Regions from separate parts of the Homo sapiens genome. Here region 2 is linked to region 1. Evidence: promoter capture Hi-C in 16 types of primary human blood cells and fetal thymus (Javierre and others, 2016). All regions are on one chromosome and are shown on one strand. The core of a region is centred on a gene start or on the middle of the fragment in contact, and the rest is flanking DNA. Distances in the headings are between cores, read along the strand shown.

What was found. The method cuts DNA at HindIII sites, captures the fragments that hold promoters and counts their contacts. A CHiCAGO score of 5 or more calls a contact.
Region 2: a fragment that was not itself captured here is called in contact with the fragment with the promoter of EXOC4 in region 1 in 1 of 17 cell types (naive B cells); the score reaches 7.4 in naive B cells.

The regions. Positions count from the first base shown.
Region 1 is chr7:133,251,590-133,254,429 of GRCh38, reverse strand. It overlaps EXOC4 (exocyst complex component 4), which reads right to left and starts at 1,352. Exons shown (of 18, transcript NM_021807.4): 1 at 1,243-1,352. The coding sequence starts at 1,328. RefSeq lists enhancers at 1,266-1,325, 1,536-1,585. The HindIII fragment of the contact is 3,927 bases long and covers 1-2,840 here.
Region 2 is chr7:134,321,133-134,323,972 of GRCh38, reverse strand. No RefSeq gene overlaps it. Among named protein-coding and RNA genes, the nearest start is that of SLC35B4, 5.6 kb to the right of the region's middle. The HindIII fragment of the contact is 935 bases long and covers 946-1,880 here.

The DNA of each region.
Region 1 (2,840 bases), core at 103-2,602:
GATACATCTACACTACCTGCGTATTGTCACAGCGAGAATGTGGGCCTATAGATTCACAATACAACAGCACTTCCTCTGTATGGCCTACCAAGTATATTAAGCATTTCCACACAGAGATGTTTTTCTCTTAAGCCCAAAAGAAAATTAAAGTAATGATTTAATAGGCCATAATCTTAAAGCCTCCTAAATAAGACCCATAAGATGTGTCTTTGTCAGTGAGTGGTAAGCTGTTCTAATGGTTTGATACATGCATTCATTGAAGTGCTTAGTACCTACCAGATAATGTTGGGCCCTGGGTTTTGAAAAGATGATCAATACATTCCAGAAAACTTGCAAGAACTCAAACAAAAGTTTAGTATAGGTGGGGAAAAATAGAGTGTTTGTTTATGAAAAATAAACGAGTTGAAATTCAAATGCCAACAACGTAAAAAACGTGCCATAATAAATTTTATTTAGATTGGTTTTAGTCAGTACCTGCATCATATCCAAGATTCTTGAAAGGGTTCCCCCATCCTCAATATATTTCGCTTTTTTAAAAAAAAGCTCCTAAAAGATCCACCGCTCCCACTCCACCCCCACCCTAATCTTCTGGGAGGTGCAGAGGGGCAGTGCATGGAGGATAATTTGAAATTGGTTTGGTTCTGTTTTTTAAGGAATGGACCAGAATGCGGAGGCAGGGCAAAAAATTGAAAACCGATGTGTGCCTTCAAACCCAGTCCTCCTACCAGCTCACTGCAGATTCTTGTATTTGTGGCTGTGGCCACGCACAGGTGGTTGAAAGTATCCAGAGTGTGAAAACACAAATCTGCAACTCGTGACAGGAATCTCCGGACTCCAAGGCCTTACACCCCAAAGTCCAGGAAACAAGACGCCTTTCTCAGTGAGTGCTGCTACAGGCAAACAATAAACAAGCATTTTAGGAATCAATAAACACACCTTTACACCTGGTTTTCTCTACCAAACCCAAATAGCGTGCTTTGGGGTCCCGAGACTGTAATAGAAGGTGCTGCCCCTAAAGAAAAGACTGAGGCGGGGCTCCTCTCTCTATAGCTAACCCCAGAAAAAAAAGGTGGAGGGGGAATTGCTGGGGCCCTGGGGAGGGGTTAGAGCCCTGGGGAGGGGCTGCGGGAGGCAAGGAGGAAAGGGGAGAGCAGGGTGGGACCCAGCTAACCCTTCTCCCTTCCAAAGCGGAGGTCGAGCCGCTGCCCCCAGTCCCCAGACCCTGCCTCCTGCCTCCCTCACCTGATCACAGAGATGAGCAGCCCCGAGGGGTCTTTGCTTTTGCTGACTGTGCTTCTGTATTTCCCACCAGCTGCTTCTGCCGCCATCTTGGACGCGGGGAGAGCCGCTAGGCTCCAAGGAAGCCAAGGGTGCGTAAATTCTGTATTTGACCCCGCAGGAGTCTCCACCAATGGGTGAAGAGAATTCCAGAGGCGCGGAAGTGGAAAATCCAATCACTGAAGTGAGGAGGCGGGACTAAGGGAGCAAGTTTTGAGGCCACGACGCGCGTGTTCTCTCTAAGCACTCTGGGAGTCGTAGTTTTCCTTCTCCGTCTCCTGGGCGCGCAGGAAAGCTAAACCAGCTGCAACTTCCTAAGTCTTGTAATGAGTGTCTTCATTTATCTTTATTCTGACTTCCAGCTTTTTTCAGTTTCCTTGCTTTTAGAATTTTGTCAGGCTTTAAATCAAATTTATCTGATGATGCCAAAATGTGTTAGGGTTTGTATTTAAATGAAAGAGGGGTTCTCTGCCGGATGTCTATGTGCGAAGTTTTTGCCTTAAGTGCAAGTGATTTTTTAAAAAATCCAATAAAATACGAAAATGAATATAAGCAGAAATGCTTTTCTTTAGTATTCTGTAAAACTAATGTTTCTACATTAGGTTTATGTGGAGTTCAATTTTTCCCAATGTTCCTATATTTCCAGATAGTTCTAAAACCACACGTACAGGAATAAATGAATATTGATGAAGAAAAGACAGTATAAGCTAAAAACAAACAGACCACACTGCAGATTCCTTTTTTTTTTTTTTCAAGCTAAATGAAATACTTAGTAGTAATGCACATTTGTGTTAATACTTTTACCGGTAAGTTTTTAGTATTTCCTGCATTTGGTTCCGTTGGCTTAGTCATTAATTCATAAGACCAAATGAACAAAACAAAACAAAAAAGACCAGAATGTGCGTGGAAAGTGGTTAGACTGAGGAACAAGAATAATAATAATTTAAAAGTAAGGAAGGAGGTGGCCTGCTCAGTAGCAATAAAGATTGAAGAACTTAAAGGAATAGAAAGCAAACTAACTCAGAGGTCATGGAGTTGTGAGCAGCAAGCTCAGAACACATCAATTACTTTTATTAAATAGACATCGAGCTGGTAGAAGTTCACATTTTTAAAAATTAGTTGAAGATAACACACACACACACACACACACGATAACTTAAAAGTATTCATAACCTTTGGCCCAATAATTCCAGTTCTAGGGACTTTGTTCCTAAAGAAATATAGAGTATTGACATTTTTTAAATAACACAGAAGAATTAAATAAATTATGTAACATTCAAATGAGGAAATAACATATAGCTTCTGGAAATCATAATTTTAATGGCTTTTAAAGAAAATAAGATTTTTGGGCCAAGTGTGATGGCTCACACCTGTAATCCCAACACTTTTTGAGAGGCAGAGCCGAGCAGACCACTTGAGGCCAGGAGTTTAAGACAAGCCTGGCCAACATGGTGAAACTCCGTCTCTACTAAAAATGCAAAAGTTAGCCGGACCGTGGTGGTGTGTGCCTGTAATCCCAGCTGCTTGGGAGGCTGAGGCATGAGAATTGCTTGAACCTAGAA
Region 2 (2,840 bases), core at 164-2,663, 1.1 Mb before region 1:
AATTATGTGATTAGTGATATTGAGCATTTTTTTTCACATGGTTATTGGCTGCTTGCATGTCATTTTTTGAAAAATGTCTGTTTATGTCTTTTGTCCAATTTTATAATGGTTTTTTTCTTGTTGAGTTGTTTGAGTTCTTTGTAAATTTTCTTCAGGTAATTATTCGTACTTACTTTCTCTCATAGCAGGTACCATTTTCAAACGCTCACCTGTTTTGTTTATGAGTCCCTTAAAGAGTAGCTGGTTTTTTGAAAGGTCCTCTTCCTTCCTTCCCTGCTTTTTCTTTCTTTCTTTCTCTTTCTTCTTTCTTTCTCTCTCTCCTTCTTTCTTTCTTTTTCTATTTCTTTCTTTCTCTCCTTCCTTCACTCCTTCCCTCCAGCTGTTACTTACTGAGCACCTACTATAAGCCAGATGTCATCCAGATATGGAGGATACTGTGGCTAATAAGACAAAGCCCTTGTCCTTGGGCCACTAATATTCTGATCAAGAAGGTTTTCTTCCTAGCCAAAATGTCATACTCCCAAATTATAGTAATCTGAAAAAATATGTCTTCAAATAATGCCCTTGAAAATATTAGCATTCATAAGTCTATTAATATACCAGGGCATTGCTTGAATCTGACCTATGAAACAAACAACAAGAATATTTTGACTCTATGAATAATATCTGAAGTATATTTATAGTGCACAGCTCTAAATATCTCAAGATTTACATAATGCAAAGATGAGAAAATAATCATCATATGATAGATATAGAAAAGATGTTTTAAAAAATCAAATGACAGATCTCTGTAGGATTGGCAATTTGAGACTTATCAGGCAGTATTCCATCAGAGGTATATTATTTAATTTTTTGTCAACAAGTTGTTTAAGTGAATTTTACAAATGATTCAAAATGTGTCTGAGTGTCTAGAACTAGAAACAAAAATGGCTTTTAGAACAAGCTTGACAGCTTTTCCCACTGACAACACTAGGTCAAAGACAATGAACATTCCCAAAGTGATAGATCCTTCTTTATAAGGTAAGAGGACTGTGAAGAGGTTTAAACATGTTGAGCACAGCTGGTGTCTAAGAAGTTGCTATTCATTCAAAAATGTTAGAATTCTGAACTCAGGGTAATAAAAGAAGAAAAAAAGATCTGTGAGATGAAATCATAGCTATACTTCATAACTTTGGTTTTATGATAAAACAAAATGTTGAAGTCGGCATGACCCCCAAAAAAACTCTTGGATGTTCTAGTTGTCAATTTATGGCCTCTCCACTCCAAATCCACCCTTCATGGCCTTGTTTGGGATGCTGGAGCTTGACCCTGTGGACGTTTCTCCTCTGATGGGGAGCACAGTGTGGAGCTTTGTCACAGAGGGGGCTGCAGGGACACTGAGGGAGGAGTTCTGGTTCTGGTGTGCTTTCTTCCATGTTGCTCATGCAGTGCTCAGCCAGCATGTAGGATACCCTGGGGAATTCACCCTGGTGGACTAACTAGTATCCTCACAGCTGGTATCCAGAAAATTCTGCCAGAGCTCCACCCAGCTTCCTAGCAAGTACAAAACTTCCACCAGCAGCTTCTCAATGAGCTGACCAGTGCCCTACCTGGACCCCAGAGGATGACCCTAGGTGAGTTTCATCAGCACCTCACTGAACTTCTCTGCTAGCCAGAGGACTGCAGCACTACCCCCTTCAATGAGGTCTGAATCTCCATTTGGGGAGGAGGGGAGAGGGCCCTTTTCCAAATATGTTCTTTTCTTGGGTAGTCTGACTCAGTCTTATGTAGTGGCTACTCCTTGTATCTGCTATTCCCATAATTTGGGGAGTTCTTTTAATCCTTTATAGTAGTTTATCTTCTAGTTAATACTACTAGTTAATAATTCTTTATATTAAGCTTTCTTTGTTCAAATTACTATACAATTTTTGCCTCCTGACTGGACCTTAATTGATACGCTGATATCCAATAGAAATGTACAAAAGATATGTACAAGATATTTCACAGTAGCACTATTAATAATAGCCAAATTGTCCATCACCAGAGAACAAATAAGTTGTCGTATATTCATACAAGGAAATGTTATGCAGCAGTAAGAATAAATGAGCTACAAATACACAAAGAAATGTAGCTGAACTGACAACATAATGTTGAGAAAAAAAAAAGAAGAAACAAAAGAAATATACTGCATGATTCCATTTATGTAAAGTGCAAAAGCAGACCAAACTTATCTTTGGTGCTAGAAAGTCAGAATAGTGCTTGCCCTTGGAGGGGGTTAGTGATTGGAATGGGGCACAGGAGCTGCTGGAATGCTGGTACTCATTTATTTCCTAACCTGAGTATTGGTTATACACCACTGTTCATGCAAATTCACTGAGCAGTACATTTTTGATGTTTACATTGTTAAAATTAGTCAAGCTGAAAAATATCATGTATTCATGAGGTGTGAATTATTTGACTACTTCAAGCTGATTCATTCAGTCATTGAATAGAAGGTATATGCACATATTATGTACCAGTCACCATGTAAGATGCTGAGGATCTAGAGATAAATTAGTTATTTGTGGATTCTGTTCATCAAAGGCTTAGTCTAGAGGGGGAGACCAACATGAAAACAGATAACTACAGTGCAACATGATTAATGGATTAGTGGGGGTATGGAGGAGTGCTGGAGGTATAGAGAAGGGAGCCATGAATGGTTCATTGAAAAGCAGCCAGGAGCAGTAGCTCATCCCTGTAATCCCTGCAATCCCTGCATTTTGGGAGGCTGAGGCAGGTGGATCACCTGAGGTCAGGAGTTCGAAACCAGCCTGGCCAACATGGTGAAACCCCGTATCTACTAAAAATACAGAATATATATA